Regions from separate parts of the Homo sapiens genome. Here region 1 is linked to region 2. Evidence: promoter capture Hi-C in human tissues and cell types (Jung and others, 2019). All regions are on one chromosome and are shown on one strand. Each heading gives the region's core, a stretch centred on a gene start or on the middle of the fragment in contact. The rest is flanking DNA. Distances are from core to core; before and after follow the strand shown. Region 1 overlaps GDPGP1 (GDP-D-glucose phosphorylase 1). Region 2 holds the start of AP3S2 (adaptor related protein complex 3 subunit sigma 2).

Region 1 (5,789 bases), core at 3,290-5,789, 350 kb before region 2:
AAAAATATGAGGGTGGTCAACATTTTCTGATAGAATGGTAAACTGTTTTTTTCTTTTTTTTTTTTTTTGAGACAAAGTCTCTCTCTGCCGCCCAGGCTGGAGTGCAGTGGCGCGATCTCGGCTCACTGCCACCTCCGCCTCCCAGGTCCAAGCGATTCTCCTGCCTCAGCCTCCTGAGTAGCTGGGACTATAGATGTGCACCCACACCCAGCTAATTTTTGTGTTTTTAGTAGAGACGGGGTTTCACCATGTTGGCCAGGCTGGTCTTGAACTCCTGACCTTGTGATCTGCCTGCTTCAGCCTCCCAAAGTGCTGGGATTACAGGCGTGAGCCACCGCACCTGGCCTAAACTGTTTTTCTTATAAAATGGGCTATGGACACATATTCTGCTTTATCACAGGGAGACTTTGTAACATCATTTGGGATGTAAAACCTCTAATGAAAACTGGAAACTAAGGCTTTATACAGGCCTAGGTATAGGGAGCCAACGACCTGAAGGCCTAAGCCAGGGCTAGGACCCACAGTTTGGGAGGCAGAGAAATCAAAACCCCTCCTGGGTGAGCCCACTCAGACAGCAGCCAGAACCCACCTGTGTGAGCCCCCTTTCACCCTTACGCTGTGAACAGGGACTCTCATTCCTTCAGGATGTTTGATGAAGGAGTGGTGGCGGTGATAATCTCTGTTGAGAGCTGGACCCAAGACTTTATGTATTTATTTATTTTGAGACTGAGTCTCGCACTATCGCCCAGGCTGGAGTACAGTCGTGCAATCTCAGCTCACTGCAACCTCCGCCTCCTGGGTTCAAGTGATTCTCCTGCCTCAGCCTCCCAAGTAGATGGGATTACAGGTGGCCGCCACAACGCCTAATTTTTGTATTTTTAGTAGAGATGGGGTTTCACCATGTTGGCCAGGCTGGTCTCGAACTCCTGACAAGTGATTTGCCTGCCTCGGCTTCCCAAAGTGCTAGGATTAAAGGTGTGAGCCAACGTGCCCAGCCAACCCAAGACTTCTTTTACTTTTGCTGTATAACATTCAAGGGAGCTAAAAGGAAAATGAGATTTCACACCCACATACTCTCTTAGAATAGTGTCTACTGACTAGTTCCTCTGGAACCAGTGTGAAATGTCTGGAGAAACAGGACAGAACAAAGCAATGAGATAAAAAAAAATTTCCCACATTGACTCAGATGCAGACGGAGGAACAACGACTTAGCTTTGGATTTTGTGTCTACATCAAGAGGAGCTTCTAAAGTGCTTGGGAAAGACCCCAAGAGGGATGGCTGAGGCTCAGGGAGGGCAAACTGTTAAGGACAGTGCTACCCACCATGGGAACCACTGACTGGAGAGGCGGTCACAAGCACACATTGTCCCAGCTCATCTTCTGGTACCTGCCTGTGCTGCAGTCCCGACTCCAGCTGCCTGACCTTGAACAAAGTACAAACTGTCAGTCTCCATCCCGTTTTGAATGGGGGTATTAAGAAGACTCAGGCTGAATTGCTTGAACCCAGGAGGCAGAGACGCAGTGAGCCGAGATCACACCACTGCACTCCAGCCTGGGCAACAGAGTGAAACTCTGATTCAAGAAAAAAAAAAAAAAACTCAGGCCAGGTGCAGTGGCTCATGCCTATAATCTCAGCACTTTGGGAGGCTGAGGTGGGAGGATCTTGAGGCCAGGAGTTCGAGACCAGCCTGGGCAACTTGGCAAGATGCTATCTCTCCAAAAAAATAGCCGGGTGTGGTGGCGCATGCCTGTGGTCCCAGCTACTAGGGAGGCTGAGATGGGAGTATTGTTTGAGCCCAGGAGGTTGAAGCTTGCAGTTAGCTGTCTTCATACCACTGCACTCCAGCCTGGGTGACAGTGACCCTGTGTCAAAAAAAAAAAAAAAAAAAAAAAAAAAAAACCTGCACCAAGGTGTGGTGGCATCTTAGCACTCTGGGAGGCCGAGGTGGGAGGATTTCTTAAGGCCAGGAGTTTGACAGCAACCCGGGCAACATAGCAAGACCCTATCTCTACAAAAAATTTAAAAATTAGCCAGGTGTGATGGTGCACACCTATCGTCCCAGCTACTCAGGGGGCTGAGGTGGGAGGGTGGCTTGAGACCAAGAGTTTGGGTCTGCAGTGAGCTGTGATTGCACCACTGCACCCCAGCCTTACAAAAAAACAAAACAAAAAAAGACGTGCACCCGGAAAGTTGTGACAACACTGTGTTTTTACATCAGATGATGTCAGTGAAGAGCATTCAACTTGGTGTTGGGGGCTAGAGGAAAGCTCAAGGTGGCAGGGAAAGTGAAGGAGTGGGGCATTTGGGTGGAGCAGGGCTAAATGGAAAGAAGGGACAAAGCAATAAAAATAAGTGGTGAGCAAAGGGGAATAAACAGGCTGAGAACAGAAGTGGCAGCTCAATACTGGAGGCACAGGCACTATTACCGTGCTAACATTTGATATCAAAGGAAGACAAAATCTAAATGTAAAGTCAGGAGTGTGTAACTGTCACACACACTCCTTTTTAACACCCCTGGGGCTTGAACAAGAACGGGGAGAGGTAGCAGATACATTCATGATGTCTTACTCAGTAGAATTATTCCAGATTTTCTCCCCTTTAAAGAGACCACTATCAGCTCCCCTTTAAAGAGACCATTATCTTTCTCCCCTTTAAGAGATCATTATCAGCTTTCTTCATCCTTCTTCTTAGGCTGAGACAGGTGAGAAGGCAGCCATGAAAATAAATGTCCAAAGGACTATGATGGACAGTGCTCTGGAAAGGGACTCATCAGGTAGAAAATGAATACATCCTGGCTGGGTGTGGTGGCTCACGCCTGTAATCCCAGCACTTTGGGAGGCCGAGGCGGGCGGATCACCTAAAGTCAGGAGTTCAAGACCAGCCTAGCCAATGTGGTGAAACCCCTTCTCTTTTAAAAATACAAAAAAATTAGCCGGGTTTGGTGGCAGGAGCCTGTATAGTCCCAGCTACTCGGGAGGCTGAGCCAGGAGGATCACTCGAACCCTAGAGGTGGAGGTTGCAGTGAGCCGAGATTGTACCAGTGCACCCCAACCTAGGTGACAGAGCGAGACTATCTCAAAAAAAAAAAAAAAAAAAAAAAAAAAAAAAGAAACAGAAAAGAATCCAGGGGCTCACTCCTGTCATCTCAGTACTTTGGGAGGCCGAGGTGGGAGGACTGCTTCAGCCCAAGAGTTCAAGACCAGCCTGGGCAACATGGTGAAACGCTGTCTATATAAAAAAATACAAAATCACCTAATCGTTAAAAAAAAAAAAAAAAAAAAAAAAAGCCAGGTGTGTGGTGGTGCACGCCTATAGTCTCAGCTACTCAAGAGGCTGAGGTGGGAGGATCACTTCAGCCCCAGAGGTGGAGGCTACAGTGAGCCAGGATCATACCACTACACTCTAGCCTGGGGACAGAGTGAGACCCTATCTCAAAAGAAAAGAAAAAAAGAACATAAATACATCCAGAAGTATTATTGCTCTTCCTGGGACATCAGGGCCACCAGTGCTGCCTGTACGTCTTCTGCCTGGGATGGGGGCAGCCGACAGTCCTGAATGAGGGCCACAGCAGCTGCCTCTGTCAGGCTGCTGAAGTCCTGGGATGTTTTGACAGGGAGGTGCCCAGCCAGCTCACAGAGGGCAACATTGAAAGCTTCACCGTCCTTTATCCCAAAGCTGGACTTCCGGGCCCACAGAATTACTCGGACCCCTGTGAGGGCTGAGGAAGGTGATGTCTTTCCCGGCGGAGCTCCCCGGGTGACAAACAAGTTATGAGCAATCTCATGGTCAGTCAGATAATCAGTGGCCCGACATACCCTGCTTATCAAGGACTCCAAGTCAGGCCCTGGCCCACGAGTGTAAAAGAGGAAGCCAGGAGCTGGGAGGTCCTGGAGCAGATGCAAATGGCCTCCAGGGTCCAGGGGCTCGCTTGGCGCCTGCTCCACGGGCAGTCTGTGGGCCAGGTAATAGCCATGCAGGTGGAGGTGGTTCACCGAGGCCAAGCCTCCCAGGCTGTTGAAGCCGACACGGAAGCCCGGGTGTAAGCTCAGCAGCACAGCCTCAATCCCTGCCCTCAGTGCACCCGGCAGCAGGCGCTGGGGGAGCTGGCGGGCAGGCTCAGGCACCAGCAGCACGTGGCCCCACTCCAGGGGGCTGACGTTGATCACCACCAGGATGTCTTCTTGCAGCAGAGTCCCAGGGAGATCAGGCTCCCGGTGCAAACGGAAGAGGACTTCTCCGGGCCGGATCTTGTTGAAGTTGAACTGTACAGGGTCAAATGCCTGCCTCACACTCTTGATGGTCTGCGGGGGCCTCCTCTGCACACCACGCTCCACATTCAGCTGAGCCACGAAACCCACAGCACCAGGGAGGATTTGGGTCTGTAGCTCCCGTAGACGGTAGCGAAACAGCCCCAGCTCCACCCGCTGCTTCCAGGCAGAGCAGAGTGCAGCATCAAAGGGAGATTGTGGCAGAGCATCTGGGATGCCAGGTGCATTCCTTGGCCACTGAATCCCTTCTGCCATGAGATCCTTCTGCCCATAAACAAAGTCAGGAATGGTTTGCCTGCCCCAGTCCTCATTGTTGGGAGGCAGCAAATAGGAAGTTTCGTTTGAATCATGTGGAAGAGCCATAGAGCTGACCTGAAATAGTCATAAAAGATGAAAACACATGATGGTAACCCACCTCCAGAGATTGTCATTGTATTTATTTATTTATTTTTTTTTTTGAGATGGAGTCTCACTCTGTCACCCAGGCTGGAGTGCAGTGGCAGTGATCTTGGTTCACTGTAACCTCCGCCTCCTGGGTTCAAGCGGTTCTCCCGCCTCAGCCTCCTGGGCAGCTGGGGTTACAGGCAGGCACCACCATGCCCGGGTAATTTTTGTATTTTTAGTAGAGATGGTGTTTCACCATGTTGGCCAGGCTGGTCTTGAACTCCTGACATCGGGTGATCCCTTTGCCTTGGCCTCCCAAAGTGCTGGGATTACAGGCATGAACCAACATGCACAGCTTATTTATTTATTTTTATTTTTTTGAGACAGAGTCTCACTCTGTTGCCCAGGCTAGAGGGCAGTGGCGCGATCTTGGCTCACTGCAACCTCCACCTCCTGGGTTCAAGTGATTCTCATGCCTCAGCCTCCCAAGCAGCTGGAATTACAGGCACCCGCCACCAGGCCCGGCTAATTTTTGTATTTTTAGTAGAGGCAGGGTTTCACCACATTGGCCAGGCCGGTCTTGAACTCCTGACCTCCGGTGACCCTCCCCTCTCGGCTTCCCAAAGTGCTGGGATTACAGGCCTGAGCCACTGCACCTGGCCTATTTATTTATTTATCACTCTGTCACCCAGGCTGGAGTGCAATGGCGCTATCTTGGCTCACTGCAACCTCTACCTCCCAGGTTCAAGCGATTCTCTGGCCTCAGCCTCCCAAGTAGCTGGGATTATAGGAATGTGCCACCACAGCCAGCTAATTTTGTATTTTTGGTAGAGACAGGGTTTCACCATGTTGGTCTGGCTGGTCTTGAACTCCTGACCTCAGGTGATCCACCCACCTCGGCTTCCCAAAGTGCTGGGATTACAGGTGTGAGCCACTGCGCCCAGCCACGGCCTATTTTATTTTGAAACAGGTTCTCACTCTGTCACCCAGGCAGGAGTGCAGTGGTGCATACATGTCTCCCTGAAGCCTTGACCTCCCAGGCTCAAGGGATTCTTTCACCTCAGCATCCCAAGTATCTGGAACTACAGGCATGTGCCACCAGGCACTGCCGAGATCGCACCATTGCAGTCCAGCCT
Region 2 (5,511 bases), core at 1,212-3,711:
ATCCTAATAGTATTTACTGAATTCCTTCCCACTCCTACATCACATATTAAAATTATTTTATGCCTAAATTATTTATAATATTTCAGTTATTCTTCCTATAATTACAATTTGAACCATCAAAGTAGGTTTTCATAGTTGGCAGAGCTAGTTCTTCTTCATAATTCTGTTTCAGAATTTTCTTTGATATTCTTCCTCAACATTTTAAACATTTTGTCAAGTTTCAGTGCAACTGACTTTTGGTTTTTATTTATTTAAAAACTGGGCCATGCCGGGCGCAGTGGCTCACGCCTGTAATCCCAGCACTTCGGGAGACTGAGATGGGTGAATCACTTGAGGTCAGGAGTTTGAGACCAGACTGGCCAATGTGGTGAAACCCCATCTCTACTAAAAATACAAAAATTTGCTGGGCATGGTGGCATGTGCCTGTAATCCCAGCTACTGGGGAGGCTGAAGCAGGAGAATTGTTTGAACCCGGGAGACGGAGGTTGCAGTGAGCCAAGATTGTGCCACTGCACTCCAGCCTGGGCAACAGAGTGAGACTCCATCTCAAACAAACAAACAAACAAACAAACAAAAAACTGGACTAGGCGTGGTGGCGGTTTGGGAGACTGAGGCTGGAGGATTGCCTGAGGCCAGCAGTTTGAGGTTACAGTGAGGTATGACTGTGCCACTGCACTCCAACCTGGGTAAGACCCTATCTCTGAAAAACAAACAAGCAAACCCCAGAACTCTGGCTGCAAAAGTAGTACATATTTCTTTGAAGGAAAAAAAGGAAAACTTGATAATCCTACCACCCAAAGATGTTTTTAAATCACTTATGTGGTACTCAGTTATGTGCCATGCACTGTCCAAGTGCTTACAAATATTATACTAACTCCCTTTGTGTTTATAACAACTGTCTGAAGTCAGTAGACTCATTTTCCAGTTTTCCAGTTTAGGAAACTGATATTACACCTTTTCTACAGATGGGGAAACTTGCCCAGGGTGCCCAGGCAGTCCGCAGAACCATGCTTTGAATCAGGGCAGTGTGGTTCCAGGGTCCTGTACAGATCAAACACCCTGACTCTGCCATTCCATCAGATACATGATTCATATTTTGGTGTATTTGCCTCCAATCTTGAGCAAAGTGGGTTGTCCCTGTACATACTTTGTGTAATCTTTTAGCTTAACAGGTGTCATGAACACTTCCGTATCATAAATCTTTCCCAGCATGATTTTTATTATCTATTTAATATTTCTCATATTCAATGTAGAACAATGCACTTAACCAATTTCTCATTTTTGTAATAATTTTCTTCCCATTTTCCCCTGTAATAACACTGCTGAGATATATATTTTTTTCTTCTTTTTTTTACTGTTCTGAAGATACTCTGGCAGAAATGTATGTTCCTCAGGCTAAATCTTTTCACACATCCACAATCATTTTATCATAAATTCTAGAGCTGGAAACGCTGAGTCTAATGTTTTATATATATATATATATATGTTATATATCTGTCACCCAGGCTGGAGTGCAGTGTGGTGTGATCTCAGCTCACTGCAACCTCCGCCTCCCGGGTTCAAGCCATTCTCCTGCCTCAGTCTCCCAAGTATCTGGGACTACAGGCGCGCGCCACCACAACCGGCTAATTTTTGTAATTTTAGTAGAGGCGGGGTTTCACCTTGTTGGCCAGGCTGGTCTCGAACTGCTGACCTCAAGTGAGCCGCCCGCCTCGGCCTCCCAAAGTGCTGGGATTACAGGCGTGAGCCACCGCGCCCGGACTGTTATATATTTTAAAGGCTTCTGATCCATATCGCCAAACAGTCCTCTGGATCGATTTGCATCTGTATCCGCTGCTCCATCTGCAGTATACGGACATGCTCCACTTCACCCACACTGGGTCATTAAAAGAACAAACAAAAATAAGAACTTGATCGATTTGGGATTTTAAATGGAAATGCACTAAAAATTCCTTAATTCCACCATTCACCGTCTACCATAGAGGAACAGCCCATCTGCACGGAGAGACAGCTACGTAATTCACTGCAGCATTATAATACTGAAAAATTAAAATGAACGAAATGTTCCATAACCGACGAACGGCCGAATGACCGGCGTCTCCACTCCGCGGAACGTTCTGCGAGCGCTAAGGGGATGGCGGGAGTGCATGATTTGGAGCGGGCGGTGAGAAAAGCAAGCTCCCGCCGCCTCTCCGTTTTGGCAACCCGGCTGACGGTCGTTTCGGCTTCTGGGGCCAGCCGTCGGTCTGGGCGAGGGACATAGATCCGGATTCGCATCCTGACTGGCCAACCAACGCTGGCCGAGGTGACCACTCTCCTCGGCATCCGCACCTGCCCTCCAAGGCGTCAGAGAGGCCGGACCCTTGGGTGCTAGGGCTCGTGAGCGCCGGGGCCAAGTTTCCGAGTGCCGCTCTCAGCAGCGCACCAACCGGAAGTGATCGTGTTGTGGCGGAAGGAGGAGCTTTCTGGGAGTAGCCGGTGCTGAGAGAACCGTGGCTGGCAAAGATGATTCAGGCGATTCTGGTTTTCAACAACCATGGGAAGCCACGGCTAGTCCGCTTCTACCAGCGTTTCGTGAGTGCGGCCCGGCTTCACCACGCCCCTTCAGGGCGCCCACTATGTCTTCCCTCCTCTTTGGCCTCTCGGCGCCCGGGGGCACCGCTCTTTGGTCACCTGGGGCTCCTGCACCGAGCATGACCCTCGCCCTACTTAAGCATTTAATCTAGGCGCAGGCTGGTGCCAGGCCTTCTGTCTCCCGCCCTACTGCCCCGCTCTCGCTGACCCTTTTCTTGATCCTGGCATTTCTGTGCCATTTTGTGACATTTTCCCGTGGGTCTCTGGGAACGAGATAGAAGCGACAGTGGGGAGTGTGCCTCGATGAGAACTTGAGTGATTGAAGTCACATTCTGTCATCTTTTTGGTTGTTGACCACAGTTTCATGAGGAAGAAATATTAAGTTTCTGAAAGTTTTTGTTATAGCCAGAACTGGAAAAGTTCTTTTTTTTTTGGAATTATTTTGCTTCAGTGTTGGCTGGGACTTTCCAGAGACTAGATACCCTTCACTCTTAGGGTTGAAGAAAATCAGTTTAAAAGTGGAAAAATGATGAGAAATTATAAATGCTGCCGCATAAGGGCTCAATAAGTGATTACGTAAATTTGAATTTTCCCAACACGTTCCTTTGCAAACACATAAACATCAGTATTTGCTTCCTGTCTTCGAAGATTATATTTCTTCATGGCAGGGTTTCAAAATGTTACATAATTGGGGGACTGGTGGAACTGAAGAGGGGAAAGAGCCAGAAAACGTGTTCAGGCTTCAGCTCCACCTTTTCTACTCTTGCGTCTGTTGACAAGTTAATAAACCCTTTTCAGACTTTTATTGTCTTTTGTCAATTAGAAATGAAAAAATAATTTTACTCCTTCATAAGATTTTTAAAGCTAGATTACATTTTATTAAGTAGATTACATCGAGGTAAAAATATGAGTATTCAGGCCGGGCGCGGTGGCTCACGCCTGTAATCCCAGCACTTTGGGAGGCCGAGGCGGGCGGATCACGAGGTCAGGAGATGGAGACCATCCTGGCTAACACGGTGAAACCCCGTCTCTACTAAAAATACAAAAAATTAGCCAAGCGCGGTGGCGGGCACCTCCAAGTCCCAGCTACTCAGGAGGCTGAGGCAGGAGAATGGCGTGAGCCCGGGAGGCGGAGCTTGCAGTGAGCCAAGATAGCGCCACTGCACTCCAGCCTGGGCGAAAGAGCGAGACTCCATCACACACACACACAAAAAAGTATATATATATATGTATGTATATGAGTATTCAGCGTAACTATTTGTATTTGCATTTGTGTGTATGCAAATTTCCCCCCTAGTTTTTTTCTAACAGGGTTACTGAGATAAAACTAACATGCCATACTGTTTACTTATTTATTTTATGTTATTTACTTATAGAGACGGGGTCTTTCTATGTTGCCCAGGCTGGTCTTGAACTCCTGGGCTCAAGCAATCCACCGGACTCAGCCTCCCAAAGTGCTGGGATTACAGGCATGAGCCACTGTGTCCGGCCCCAGTTTACTTATTTAAAGGGGACAATTCAGTGTTTTTTAGCATGTTCACAGAAGCTGTGTAACCATCACCACAATCAATTTTAGATCATTTTCATCACCCCAAAAAGAAACCTCTGCCCATTAGCAGTCACTCCCTATTTCTCCATGACTCTCCCAGCCCCAGAGAGTTTCTTTCCCTCTAAATTTGCCAGTTCCAGAATGGCAAATGGAATTTGCCTATTCCGTTGCCTATAAATGGAATCATAAATAAGTGGTTTTTTGTGTGTCTGCCATGTTTCATGTAGTATAATGTTTTCAAGATTCATCCATGTTGTAGCATGTATCTGATGTTCTTCATTTCTTTTATTGCTGAATAATATTCCATTATATGGATATGCCATATTTTGATTGTCAATTTATAAGTTGATATTTCTGCTTTTTGGCTCTTCTAATTAATGCTGCTATGAACATTCTTGTGCAAGTTTTTATGTGGACTTATGACTTCATTTCTCTTGGTTATATACCTAGGAGTAGAATTGCTGGATCATATGGTAACTGTGGTGAACATTTTGAGAAACTGCAAACTATTTGACAAATTTTCCAAGTGGCTGCACCATTTTACATTTCCATCAGCAATGTATAATGATTCCAGTTTCTTCACATCCCTGCCATTCGTTATTTATTTATTTATTTTTGGTTAAAGACATTTTAGTGGGTGTAAAGTGGTATCTCACTGTGGCTTTTTTTTTTCCCTCCGAGACTGAATCTCACTCTATCTCCCAGGCTGCAGTGGCGTGATCTCGGTTCACTGTAACCTCTGCCTCCCGGGTTCAAGTGATTCTCCTGCCTCAGTCTCCTGAGTAGCTAGGATTACAGGTGCCCACGACCATGCCTGGCTAATTTTTGTATTTTTAGTAGAGATGGGGTTTCGCTGTGTTGGCCAGGCTGGTCTCGAACTCCTGACCACAAGTAATCTGCCCGTCTTGGCCTCCCAAAGTGCAGGGATTACAGGCGTGAGCCACCGCACCCAGCTCATTGTGGTTTTGATTTCAGTTTCCAAAATGACTAATGATGTTGAGCATCTTTTCATGTGCTTATTGCCCATTCGTGTATCTTTGGATCATAGGATTTTTATAAGACCTCATGAGCTCATGGATGAAAGTACCTTGAAAACTACAGAGTACTAAAAAGATATGAGGGGTTATTAAAATCACTGAGGCATGTAAGCAATTGGTAGTTTACCTTTTTATTGAACTAGAAATTAGGTAGCCTCATCATTTCGTACCACTTCCCCACTGCTGCCACTTCCCCCAGAGTCAGATAAAAGGCTTTAGTTCAAAAGATGTCTTTGTCAGTTTTAAAAAGTGCTGATGCTTAGCATGTTTTGTATTTTGCATATATAGAGTTCGTCTCCTACAGCATCCTGTCATCTGTGAGCTTTGTTTGTTCTTTAAATGGAAATGAGG

Evidence for each region. Contacts are between HindIII fragments. The study calls those that stand out against the background at their distance.
Region 1: a fragment that was not itself captured here is called in contact with the fragment with the promoter of AP3S2 in region 2 in 7 of the 25 tissues and cell types used here (IMR-90 fibroblasts, aorta, dorsolateral prefrontal cortex and 4 more).

Annotation. Positions count from the first base shown.
Region 1 is chr15:90,239,752-90,245,540 of GRCh38, reverse strand. GDPGP1 (GDP-D-glucose phosphorylase 1) reads right to left here. Exons shown (of 4, transcript NM_001013657.3): 4 at 1-4,641. The coding sequence starts at 4,632. The coding sequence ends at 3,475. It also overlaps a transcript of CIB1 not described here. Among named protein-coding and RNA genes, the nearest start is that of TTLL13, 6.9 kb to the left of the region's middle. The HindIII fragment of the contact is 7,306 bases long and covers 887-5,789 here.
Region 2 is chr15:89,890,944-89,896,454 of GRCh38, reverse strand. AP3S2 (adaptor related protein complex 3 subunit sigma 2) reads left to right here and starts at 2,461. Exons shown (of 6, transcript NM_005829.5): 1 at 2,461-2,574. The coding sequence starts at 2,506. The region is part of intron 5 of ARPIN-AP3S2 (ARPIN-AP3S2 readthrough); the gene reads left to right. ARPIN (actin related protein 2/3 complex inhibitor) reads left to right here. Exons shown (of 6, transcript NM_182616.4): 6 at 1-1,449. RefSeq lists enhancers at 1,179-1,926, 2,281-2,430, 3,423-4,172. The HindIII fragment of the contact is 43,728 bases long and covers 1-5,511 here.